Linked DNA regions of Homo sapiens: regions 2 and 3 are each linked to region 1. The links are contacts of gene promoters, found by promoter capture Hi-C in human tissues and cell types (Jung and others, 2019). All regions are on one chromosome and are shown on one strand. Each heading gives the region's core, a stretch centred on a gene start or on the middle of the fragment in contact. The rest is flanking DNA. Distances are from core to core; before and after follow the strand shown.

Region 1 (4,235 bases), core at 748-3,247:
TGAGGGGCAATCTTGGAAAACCAGAGTACGAAGTAGAAGGACATGGGAAGGACAGGCAAGACAACCCCAGGATTCTCAGCAATTACTGCAGTGGGGAAGGAACGGAGGGGCCTCAAGTCCTTTACACAGGGCAAAATGATGGGGCAGTGAGAGTTGATTATGGTTATCTGTGGCTTCATTTGTATTGATGAGAAATGTGGTTACACAAAAATAAATAAGACAAATTGTCCTCAAAGAAGTGAAATTTTATGGAGTCAGACATGCAAACAGATCATTAAAAGGTGACCAGCACTATTATAATAGTCCTTACAGAGGAGGTAACAACCAAGTAAGGCTCTGAAGGATGAACAAGAGTTTGCCAAATGAAAAAGAGATGGACCAATATTCTAGCTAGGAGGAACCTCACATGCAGAGGCTTAGAGTTATGGAAAATGGAGAGATAAGTTAGGAGCAGATTGTAAAGAGGCACACCAGGAGATGTGGAATTTACTTTGTAGGCAATAGAGAACCAGCCCACCAGCCCAGACTTTCAAGTAGGGGGATCATGGAATCTTTTTTTTTGCGGGGGGGAAGGTATTTTAGAGGAAAATTTGGACAATTAGTTGAGAGGTGCAAGGTACCACCTGAATGGCAGTTGGGTAAGGACTAGAGTCAGAAGAACCACTGATGGGACTGTGGAAACAACTTGTGCAATGACCCAGCAGCCAGATATCATGCTGGTTCAGGAACCGAGGGAGGCTCTGTGAGGCCAGAGCACATTTGGCTGGAGAAGGAGGAGAGGATGGCAGTAGAAGGAGAAGGAAAAGAAGGCTGCTCACTTGCATGCAGATGCTGTGAGCTGACGGGGCAAGTTCAAATTGAAGTTAGAACAGACCACTGGGGTAGTCAAGACCTTGAAGGATGAACCTGTTTCTTTTTCATTCCTGAATCTTGCCCCAGCACCTTGGAGGCTGGGGGTGGAGGAGGTGGTGAGGTGGGGTGGGGTGGTGAGGAGCTCAGAAAATGTTTTCCTGAATTAGAGAACTGAAGGAATCAAGGCTCCGCTGAGCTCACTAAGCGCTGGAGCCTGCTGTAAGTGGTCAAGTCGGGTGATACCCAGCAGACAAGTAATTTGTGTGCAGACCGGAGTAGATTACGGAGGACCCAAGGGTCAGGCTAAGGATCCTGAACACCATCCACGATAGAGTGGAGACGTGCGCTTCGGAGCCTGAACTATGCAGCAAGCAGTGTGTTTACTCAAATACTATACAGTTGGAAAATCTTAATTCTCGATTTACATTGCCAAAAAAAAAAAAAAAAAATCTCCATAATACTCCCCCATTTGTAAATAAGCAAATCCGAACTAACCCTATTCCTTGGGACCAGAAGACCCAGTTTCTACCGCGGATAGATAGCATCCGCCTTATGCTAAAAGCTCTTTTTTCTGCGGTGGTGGGGGGCGGCGGGGAGTGTTTGGAAAGAACGGTTGCAAAAACAAAACAAAACCCCCAAAACCACTCACCCAATCTCAACCACCCCAACTGATGAATTTCGAAGAAAGTGCTTTTTAAAAAAGAAAAAACTAGAAGACCACAGACCTCCCACAGAAAGCTAAACCCATGAGAGTGGCATTCAAAAACTACCCATTTTCTGGAACATCTTTTGTAGCTAAATCCCAGCCATCCTAGCCCCGGAACACTCCCGCCCTCCGTCCCCGCACCCCCACCCCCGCCGCCACACGCGCTCGCAGGCTGACGGAGGTTGGCGGTGGGGCGGCCGCTCAGGTGAGGGGCCACCCAGTCCCTCGAGGCGCCGGCGGCTGGAGCCCATTCGCTGCCGTCGCAGCAGCAGGGCAAGAGGGGGTTGGCCAGGAGGGGAGGAGGCGGAGGACGCCCGCAGGGAGTGCGGGGGAGGGGGACGGGAGGACGCTAAGGAGAGCCGGGAGGGGCAAAAGCACGGCGCGGGGAGGGGGAGCGGAGAGGGCGGGAGCGGCGGGGGCGCGCGCCGGCGCGGGGCCAGCCTCGCTTCGCCAGGGTCGCTGGCGGACGCGCGCCGCAGTCCGAGCCTCAGACGCGCGGGCGCGGGGGACGGCGCAGGGGCCGCCTGGCTGGAGCAGCCAGAGGGGATAGCTTCGTCGAGAACGGAGGACACCGGCGGTCCAGGGTCCTGGGCAGTCGCGCCAGAGCTGAGCGGAGGGCGCGGCGCGAGAACGTAAGTAGCTCCTTGCGCGTCTGGCGGTGACACTGGGTCCTGCTCGGGGGTGACGGCTGGAGCGGAGGAGGACGCGCGAGGCTGCTGCGTTGTCACTTGGACACCGCCGCGGGGTTCAGCCGAGCGCTCACCGGGCTGGCAGCGCTGCAGGAGGGGCAAAGCAGATCTCCAACTCCCTTCTCCCCTGCAGGCCCCCGACACTCCCGCGGGCGCCGAGAGGGAGCAGGGGGACCTGCGCTTGGGTGAAGGCACAGCTGAAATCCAGCAGCGCCGGCACCCACCACCCCCTCCAGCCTGTGGCCAACTTCTGCTCCGCGCCCGCACCCCACGCTTTCCGGGAAGCCCTGCCCAGAGCTCTTGCTCGTGGGCAGTTGGGCATGGAGAGCCTGCGGGCCCGGCACGGCGGCTTCCCGGGCTTGGACACGGAGGCGCGGGGCGTCACGCCACAGTGCCGGCGGGGCGAGGAGCGCGGGGGCCGGGCCGGGAGCGCACGGGCGTGTGCCTGTTCGGGCCCCTGCGGACACGTCTGGGCGTGGGCTTTGTTCGGAAGTGCGTACACCTGTGCTGACCACGGAGTTCGGGGGCGAGGCCGACTTCGCTTCTCCAGTCGCTGCCTGGAGAGGGCTCGGGGAATCGAGGCGGAACGAGAGAGACACGGAGGACAGAGGGGTGGGGCGCTTGCGGGGGCTTTGTCGGCCTTACAGGTGCGGGTCCCGGGAGTCCCTGCGCCCCGCCCTGCCTCCGAGGGCTGGGACTTGTCGGGGCCGGCGCACCGGGCTGGGGGCTGCCTGGAAAGATTGCTTTCCCAGCCCAGGCTCTTAGCGGTGGGATCTGGCATCCGCTCCGCCCGGGATGCTGTGTTGAGCCAGGAGTGATTACCCGCCCTGGAGCATCCATCTCGCAGCGAGCGCCATCTGCGCCGAGCGCCGCCCCCGGCCCCCTCCACGCCGCGCGGGTGGGCGCTGCCGCATCCTGGTCCCAGGCGGTTGGCCAGCTCAGCTACTCCCGGCCCGCATCTGCTAGAGTGCGGAGGGGGACGGGGTGTCGCAGTAGGGTGAGCAAGGGAGTCGTCATTTCTCCCAAAGCGGTGTCCTCAGGGCCGCAAGCGCTGCTGGAGGGCTCCCCGGGCCCCGGGGCTGGCGAACAGGCCGCTTCCTTCCCCGGATCGCCTCCCCTCCCGCCCGCGCCCGCGGCCACATCTTCGTCCCCCGTACGCTGGCGGGTGGCCCCTGCGCCGCGGGCACCGAGGGAGGGCGCCGAGCGGTGGCGTTTCTTTCGCACCCCGCCTCTCTCCTTCCCTTTTCTTCGCATCAGGGGCTCCAGCCCTTGGCTACCACCGGCGCAGAACTGTCCTGAGAAGAAAGCTTTCTTTTCCTTTCCGAGTCCCAGATGGTTAACGCTCAGAAGTGCGGGTCTAAGAGACTGGGCTCTTCCTCGCCCCAGGCTTTTGCAGGAGGAGATGGAGCCAAGTGTAATGAGGCAGGAAGCATTGGTTGTGCACCAGGAGCTCCCCCTGGGGTGGTCCTGGAAAGGAACACAGTAACCTCTGAATACAAACCTCGGAGGCTGGGCTGCTTTATGGGACTGCATTGTGCTAACCATGCCCTGCTGTTAAAATATTGTAATAATGGCAGTACTTGCTGAAGTACTGAAATGGAGTTAGGCAACTGATACTTGCTGCTTTAATGGTAACGATAGCCAACCGGTTTTGAGAGCTTTAGATGTGCTGGGCGCTGCGCATGTTACATGTATCATCTCATTTAATTCTCACAGCAACCCCATTTTAAAAATTAGGAAATGAAGGCTTAGAGAAACCAAGTAACTTTCCCAAGGCCACACAGCTAGGAAGTAGGGGAGTGGGATTGTTTTTGTCCTTGTGCTTTACAATCCAAGACTGAGACTGTGGCCTTTTGGAGGCTTATCAGTTTAGGGGAAACCTAAACCACTGAGTGTTCAAAACCAGGGAGATACATTACAAGCCCATTTAATTCGGAGCTCTGCAGAACTCACAGTAGCAGGCAATATTGTGATTCAGAGAACTGTAT
Region 2 (4,235 bases), core at 833-3,332, 59 kb before region 1:
TTATGGACTTAGTCTTCAGCTCCTTTGGGTAAATATCGAGGAGTACCATTGCTGGGTCATGTTAAGAGTATGTTTAATTTTGTAAGAAGCTACCGAACTATCTTTCAAAGTGGCTGTACCATTTTGTCTTTCTTCAGCAATGAGTGAGAGTTCCTTTTACTTTACATCCTCACCAGCATTTAGTGTTCTCAATGTTCTGTATTCTGGCCATTCTAATAGATATGTAGTAGTATCATGGTTATTTTAGTTTGCATTTTCCTGATGACATATGATGTGGTACAACTTCTTATATGTTTATTTGTTATCTATATATCTCCTTTGATGAGGTGTCTGTTACGGCCTTTGGCACATTTGTAATTGAGTTTGTTTTCTTATTGTCGAGCTTTAAGAGTTCTTTGGATATTACGGATGACAGCTCTTTATCAGATATGTCTGTTGAAAATATTTTTTCCCAATCTCTGCCTCGTTGTCTTATTCTCTTGACATTGACCTTCACAGAGCAGAAGGTTGGTTTTTTTTTTGTTTGTTTTGTTTTTGAGACAAAGCCTGGCTCTATCACCCAGGCTGGAGTGCAGTGGCACGATCTTGGCTCGCTGTAACCTCTGCCTCCTGGATTCAAGTGATTCTTCTGCCTCAGCCACCCGAGTAGCTGAGATTACCGACGTGCACCACCATGCCTAGCTAATTTTTTGTATTTTTGGTAGAGATGGGGTTTCACCATGCCGACCAGGCTGGTCTTGAACTCCTGACCTCGTGATCTGCCTGCCTCAGCCTCCTAAAGTGCTGGGATTACAGGCGTGAGCCACCACGCCTGGCCAGAAGTTTTTAATATTAATGAAGTCTACCTTACCAATTTTTTCTTTTGTGTATTGTGCATTTGATATTGTCTCAAAGTCATTGCCATTCCTAAGGTCATCTAAGTTTTCTCCTATGTTATATTCTAGTTTTATACATTTGCATTTTACATTTAGATCTGTAATCTGTTTTGAGTTAATTTTTTTGATAGGTATAAAGTCTGTGTCTAGATTAATTTGCATGCAGATGTCAGTTGTCATTTGTTAAGACTATTTTTGCCCCATTGTATTACCTTTGCTCTTTTGTCAAAGATCAATTAACTGTATTTAATTGGGTCTGTTTCTGGACTCTCTATTCTGTTCCATTGATCTATTTGTCTTTTCTTTTACCAATACCACATTTTTAAATTGGATTATTCTTTTCTTATTTGTATGTGTTCTTTTTACATAGTGGTTAAGAACCCCTTCTATGTTATATGCTGTAGTTTCTTCTAGCCTGACTTACTTGATTTAATGAGCACTTATTACTTAGGTAGTGAAATCTTTTTCACATGGCTATCAGCAGCTCTAGTCTGGAAATTCTTTCATATCCTGTAACTGTGTGGCTTCAGCATCTAGCACCATGTCTGGTATAGATTAAGTATTCTATAAATCGTTTGCAATGAATAATGTATAAGACCTGACCTTTTTCTTCAAGGAATTAAAGTCTAGTGTCACATAAAGTAGTCCAGAATTTAACAATGAGGAAGGGAAAAAAAAGCATAGTATCTAAATTGCATATTAAATTATGTGTTGTGCAACGGAAGACTTATCTATTGGGAAACTTCCCTAAATTAGTTCTTCTCCCTAAACATTCTATTCCTCATTTTCTTTTTTTATTTACCTCTATACTGAAAGTGAATTATTTTCTATTAGCTTAAAAATGAATTTTCTATCAGCTATAATAGGAATATTTTGTCTGCTTTTTTTGAGACAGCTTGCTGAGTTTAGTCCAAATAGTCTTGTGTTTTCTGTTATACCCAATTTCAATTTTTAACTTGAATTCTAATTTTTTTTCTTGCCATTTCAGGTAAGACCATGAATTATGGCATTTCTTAAATGAAGCGTTCAAGAAGTGAGAGAATGTCATAGAAAATAAATGATTTTTAAGTTATGTCTATTAATCTGACTGTAGATATATATATTTACCTCCTTAGTAATGCAAGAAGTGTTTGTGGGAAGCAGAGAAGCAAGCAACTGTATTTCTTGTTCTCACCTAAGCATTACTGGAGGATAAGCCACATCAGTCTACAAAGAGGTTTTCATACAAACATAATAAGATGTAAATGGACCAAAAGTGAAGCACATTCTTGCAGTAAGCACTGTTACTCTCCAAGCAACCATGGTTTACATATTGGGATTTTGAAACTTAGCACTTCTGCTCCCAAGGGACTTACAAAAGTGAACATTTGTATGTCCCGTATTAAAAGTACTTTGAACTCTGTTTCAAAGGCTGTTTTTGGCAATCAAAATGAAATGATTTCACGTTTAGCTCAATTTAAGCCAAGTTCCCAAATTTTAAGAAAAGTATCGGATAGTGGCTGGTTAAAACAGAAAAACATCAAACAAGCCATCAAATCTCTGAAAAAATATAGTGACAAATCAGCAGAAAAGAGTCCTTTTCCAGAAGAGAAAAGTCACATTATAGACAAAGAAGAAGATATAGGTAAACGCAGTCTTTTTCATTACACAAGTTCTATAACCACAAAATTTGGAGACTCATTCTACTTTTTATCAAATCATATTAATTCATATTTCAAACGTAAGGAAAAAATGTCTCAACAAAAGGAAAATGAACATTTCCGGGACAAATCAGAACTTGAAGATAAAAAGGTAGAAGAGGGGAAATTAAGATCTCCAGATCCTGGCATCCTGGCTTATAAGCCAGGCTCAGAATCTGTACATACGGTGGACAAGCCTACAAGTCCTTCTGCGATACCTGATGTTCTTCAAGTTTCAACTAAACAAAGTATTGCTAACTTTCTTTCTCGTCCCACGGAAGGTGTACAAGCTTTAGTAGGTGGTTATATTGGTGGACTTGTCCCCAAATTAAAGTATGATTCAAAGAGTCAGTCAGAAGAACAGGAAGAGCCTGCTAAAACTGATCAGGCTGTCAGCAAAGACAGAAATGCAGAGGAGAAAAAGCGTTTATCTCTTCAGCGAGAAAAGGCAAGTTGTTCAGTGTGCTTTTCGGTTCTATTACTTTTTGTCAAATTTATAAGTTTTATTTCCTAATGAGAACTAAGAAACTTTCATTGTTCTTTAGAGCAGTTTTGTATTCTAATCATATCTATTTAATATGTCTTTGTAGATTATCGCAAGGGTGAGTATTGATAACAGGACCCGGGCATTAGTTCAGGCATTAAGAAGAACAACTGACCCAAAGCTCTGCATTACTAGGGTTGAAGAACTGACTTTTCATCTTCTAGAATTTCCTGAAGGAAAAGGAGTGGCTGTCAAGGTAATTTCTAATTTATTTAATCTAGTTTTGTCTTGGAATAGAAGTACTAAAAAAAATCTAAAATGGAGAAGGCAAAGCCTTTCATTTTTCCATTTGAATTTTGTGGTTTTTATTATACATGTGATGTGTATTCAGTAATTACCCTATTTATTTTGTGACATACATTATGCTAATCAATTCATTTTATTTTGTTAGCACCAATATGTATACTTTGAAATTAAACATTTATAAAATAGAAAATAATCAGTTTATTAGTTGAATTGCCTAACAGCTGCCAGATTTTTCTTTAGTGCAATGTAAATATTTATACTATGTAACTGTTCTTTTAAGATAGGAGACATAATTCATATGTGAGGCTGTTGTTTTTATTTCATGGTCCTTTCGTATTTGAAAGTCTAAAAATTTGAATGACCTTACTCATAATTGAATTAGTAATCATATTAAGTAAAACAATGAGCTTTTCTTTGCCTCAGTTTTTTCAACTATAAAATAATGAAGATAATTTAGACCCACTTAAATGGACTGTTTTCAGAGAAGTGCTATAAAATATGACTAATGTGATTGAGTCTCTTTACATCTATATTATTAAGATTATTTGTAATATTTAATGAAAAATTTGAAAATATCATAATGATAGATACTGCTTACATTTCATTAGAAATCTATTAGTGCTTATTTTTAGCTTGGCATTCAGAAAATTGTTTTAACTTAGAACACATTTATTCTACTTTTTAACAATTACCTTGTTGAAAAATTGTCTTTGAATAATGTACCCATCCTTACTTGTGTATTGTATAACACATACATTATTATAGGTAGCTTCACTATTTTATGGTCCTATAATTTGGGATTATATTTTATATTTATATAATCTTACATAAAAGATAAGATTCTCAAATATACATATGCTTTTAAGTATATTTCACATTTCAGTGATATAC
Region 3 (4,235 bases), core at 1,045-3,544, 47 kb after region 1:
TGTATACATAAACATATTTACAAGATTGTTTACTGTAGTTTTGTTTCCTTAAAGAAAATGGATCAACTTAAGTACCTATCAACAGTGGACTGTCAACAGTGGAATGGTTACGAAACTAAGGTACATCCATACTGTGTAGCTGTTAGAAGATCTAGGCCTGGCTGGGTGTGGTGGCTTATGCCTGTAATACCAGCACTTTGGAAGGCTGAGGCGGGCAGATCACGAGGTCGGGAGTTCGAGACCAGCCTGACCAACATGGTGAAACCCCGTCTCTACTAAAAATACAAAAAAAATTAGCCGGGCGTGGTGGCGCACACCTGTAATCCCAGCTACTCAAGAGGCTGAGGCAGGAGAATCCCTTGAACCCAGGAGGCAGAGGTTGCAGTGAGCTGAGATCACGCCATTGCACTCACTTACTTTTTATTGTATTTATTTTTATTTTATAAAAATAGAAAAGATCTAGGCCCATGTCTACTGATATGGAACAATCTCAACACATGTTGTAACATTTAAAAAGTAAGTTGTAAAATAGCATATAGTATTAACATCAACCCAGTTATAGAGAAACAACAAAAAGCAAAACTTTAAAAATCCCAACCTAATGATAGAGACATTCAGGGACCTTTTCCTTTTTATCCTGTTAGCTCCTGCAAGTATTCATGCATTTAAATTTGAAGGAAAAAAACCTTAAGGGTATCATCCTTTAAATAAAAGCCAAAATGTATCTCCCAGGAAAGGTTAGAGGAAATTTTCATGTTAGTGCTTAAGAAAAAAAAAGATAATTGGAGAGAAATCCACAGGTAGTCCTATATTAATAACATTTCACAGAACATTTGGGATGAGGAATTATTTTTATGAATTGAAGAAAAAATAAATGCCAACTGATTAAAAAAGGCCTTTCATAGGCTGAAGTAGTGGAAAGTTGGAAAAAGTATCAACAATTAGAATATAATCAATTCATTGTAGAAGGAAAGTTTTTTTAAAAAAACAGAATAAAACTGAAAATGGAACAAAATTTTGTGCTTGATTTTGTGTGCAAATTAACAAGTTTTATCGGGATGATACGAAAGATGTTATATAAACTATTTTGTTTCAAGGATGACATAGCAAACAAGGCGTTTTTCTTTGCTTGCTTTACCTTAAATACTGACCCAAGATAGAACTAGTATAGAAAAAATCAGTTTCAAGGGTCTGAACCACCCCATGCTGGACCACTTCCTCCACTATCCCTGATAGGGGCTCAGTCATACAGGCTGCCCTTCCACACTTGCTGTGACAAAGGACTTGACCCTCACGAGGTGACCTGTTTTGTCCTTGGACAGTTCTCCTTACAAAGTTCTTAGTACTGTATTAAAGTAAAATCTACCTTCAGGGAAGGTTTACCTCTAACGCATATTAGATTGAGCTTTAAAAATTGATCAAGGCCCAGTCCCTACCTCAGACCAATTAAATCCCTGGGATTGGGGCCCAAGCATCAGAACTGTTTTTGAAAGTGCCCCAGGGAGTTTCATGTACAGTGAGGACTGGCAACCACTGTACTCCCAGAAACCCATCAAATTTAAGGAGCACTCTCACATTTCACCTTCATCTTTTGTCCAAGAAAATTATCCCCTAGTCTTTCTATGAAATGGCTTGTAATGTTTTAAAGGTTTGTGGGATGAGTATCAATGCATACTGCAACCACTATAACAAGACAATTCTTAATAAGAAATTGGGTGAAATACAGTCATAGTGACTAGAATTATAAGGAAACACCCAAATTTAATCAAGGGCTATTTAATATGGGCTTATATTTTTCTATCTGTACTTTAATGAAGTTTTTAAACTTGAATTCGAGGTCCGCACAGTTGCAGCAGTTGTACTAAAATACAACTTAAGAATATTGATTTGAGAGTCTCTTGAGTCAGGAACTATTTGCTGGGTATGCCTATAGTTTTTAATGGCTCAGGGTTCTTCTTTTTGTAATGATTTAAAAACAAACAAGGTGGTGGCAGGAATAAGTCAAAGGTGAGACACATATTTGGCTTGATTTAGTGGGAAATCAATCATTCAAATACAACCTTTTAAAAAGAAAGATATAATATGCAAAACAATTTTTATTTAGAAGTTAGAACTGCAAATTATGATATAGTGTTAGAATCTAGATGTCCTTCAAAAGTCTATGCATATTATTTTATCTAACAAGGTAAACATAACCTTGTGTTCACAGCTTCTATGGGTGTGAAATTTTTTTGCCAGGGGAAATTTTGCTAAATTTTAATTTTTCACTACTAAAATAAGGGTCTATTACAGGTTACATATAAGATGCTGTTGAAACCATTAGAACATGGGGGAAGCCATCATGCTCCTCCTCCCCCAAAATGGGGTCTTGGACCCCTGAGCTGGGCATCAGAATGAAGGAGGAGCGACCTGTCCTCAGGCCTGGTGCCTGGAGACTGGGGTGATGCGCGAGATGGCACCGGGGTGAAAATGGAATTGAAGAGTGACCCAGGGAGAGATCTAAAGAGGCTCTGGAGAGAGGTCAACAGGAGATGTCAGAACAGATGGGGAAGTTTGGGAAGGAAGTGTCAGAAGCTTTAGATTTTAGTATAAGTGTGGCTGTCACAGACTGTTCGTAGGAGTGGGAGGTGCAATGCATTGAGCTGGTTATTGGAAGTTGCCAGATGGCTTTACTTTCCTTCCTATGCAGGATGTAAAATATGTCATCCATTTCTATTTAGGAAAAAACATTCAATGTTGTTTTGTTTTAGCTGAAGCAGTGATAGTGGTCAGCAGTCTGGAAATTCTACCTTTTTGCAGGTTACATTTCTCTTAATGCTCTGCACGCGTTGATCCTACCTAACCTCAAATTCCTGCCTAGCCTCCATCCTGTGACCAAAGTGAATCTCACTCCTCTGGGGCCGTGTGAGACTCCACAGCCACCTTCTCTTTCTAGGCAGGTGTTTTGTGCCTTCCCTCACACAAACAGCTCCCTGAATATGTCACACCCCTCGTTCCCCAGCTTAAGGGCTCCATTCACCTAATTTCATTTTGCAATGCCTTGTGGAGGTAGGAGGCGACAAGGAATTGAGGAGGGTGACAGTCCCAGTTCTCCTACCCGCCCCGCCTCTACAGTCATCCCACTGAACCCAAGGAGGACATTTCTTACTGAATGAGGGTCGGCTCCATTTCTTTCTCTTCTAATCCCTTTCAGGGAGTGCTCAGCTTGGTGAGGAATGAAACCCAATGCTCCATGGCCCCTTTCCAGCTGGGTGCAGTTCCAAACTGCATTCAAAGCCAACACTAATTATGTTCAAAGTTTCATATTAGTAACGGAGTAAAGACATATGTGAGCTAATATTAAATATCAATTTTCCCTAATAAGAGGCTTTGGCTATTTTATTGTGGATATGAAGCTGTCTTGGTATCTGTATGTGAAGACACTGGCATAGAACCTCATATGTCAGGAGGGGAGGATGGTGCCCTCTGGCAGGAAGCTTCCAATTTTCCGGGACAGCTTTTCTCACATTCTTGCTAAAAAGCCTGTGCCCAGCTCAGCAGCTTGGCAAATAGAGCAAAACCTCCTGGATTTGAATGGCACTCATAGAGAATCCATGACCACCAAATAGGGCCACAACAGGTTCATTTTTACATTTTCTCCGTTTAGTTCTTCCTAGACAAATCAATATTTAACCAGTTTGTGGATTTAATCTAGTTTAAATTCATTTAAGAGAATGTTGGGCTCTTAAAAAGTGTCAGTTCCATACAAGCATATAATCTATGTGCTACCTAGCATAGTACCTAGTACACGATAGGCAATTAAAGGTTGGATTTATGAATTATTATGAATCATTAAAGGAAGTCTCTAAATTTCTTTGCTGGGTGGCAGTTTTTTTAAAAAAAGAAAACAAATCTGTTATTGTTTGTAGTTGAAAATGATAAAATCACTTCTTTAAAAATATTCCCTTATCAATTTTATATCAATCACATCAATTTAAATTTGGAAAGATTCATTATATATTAGATTAATAGTTCTTGGCTTCACATTACAACCACCTGGAGAGTCCTACCCAAGACCAATTAAATCGGAATCTCAATTGTGGGCTTTGGCCATCTGGAGTTTTGCTTTTTTAACAGCTTTATTGAGATATAATTAAACACAACAAACTGCACATACTTAAAATGGACAATTTGATAAATTTTAACATACACCTGTGAAACCATCAACACAATCAAGATAGTAAACATATCGCCTG

What was found. The method cuts DNA at HindIII sites, captures the fragments that hold promoters and counts their contacts. A contact is called where the count stands out against the background at its distance.
Region 2: a fragment that was not itself captured here is called in contact with the fragment with the promoter of NRCAM in region 1 in 1 of the 25 tissues and cell types used here (neural progenitor cells).
Region 3: a contact is called between a fragment that was not itself captured here and the fragment with the promoter of NRCAM in region 1, in 2 of the 25 tissues and cell types used here (dorsolateral prefrontal cortex and hippocampus).

The regions. Positions count from the first base shown.
Region 1 is chr7:108,454,198-108,458,432 of GRCh38, reverse strand. It overlaps NRCAM (neuronal cell adhesion molecule), which reads left to right and starts at 1,997. Exons shown (of 33, transcript NM_001037132.4): 1 at 1,997-2,190. The HindIII fragment of the contact is 13,209 bases long and covers 1-4,235 here.
Region 2 is chr7:108,513,203-108,517,437 of GRCh38, reverse strand. It overlaps PNPLA8 (patatin like domain 8, phospholipase A2), which reads left to right. Exons shown (of 11, transcript NM_001256007.3): 3 at 1,864-3,002; 4 at 3,145-3,294. The coding sequence starts at 1,947. Among named protein-coding and RNA genes, the nearest start is that of PNPLA8, 11 kb to the left of the region's middle. The HindIII fragment of the contact is 8,100 bases long and covers 1-4,235 here.
Region 3 is chr7:108,407,755-108,411,989 of GRCh38, reverse strand. All of the region lies in intron 1 of NRCAM (neuronal cell adhesion molecule), which reads left to right. Among named protein-coding and RNA genes, the nearest start is that of NRCAM, 47 kb to the left of the region's middle. The HindIII fragment of the contact is 4,327 bases long and covers 131-4,235 here.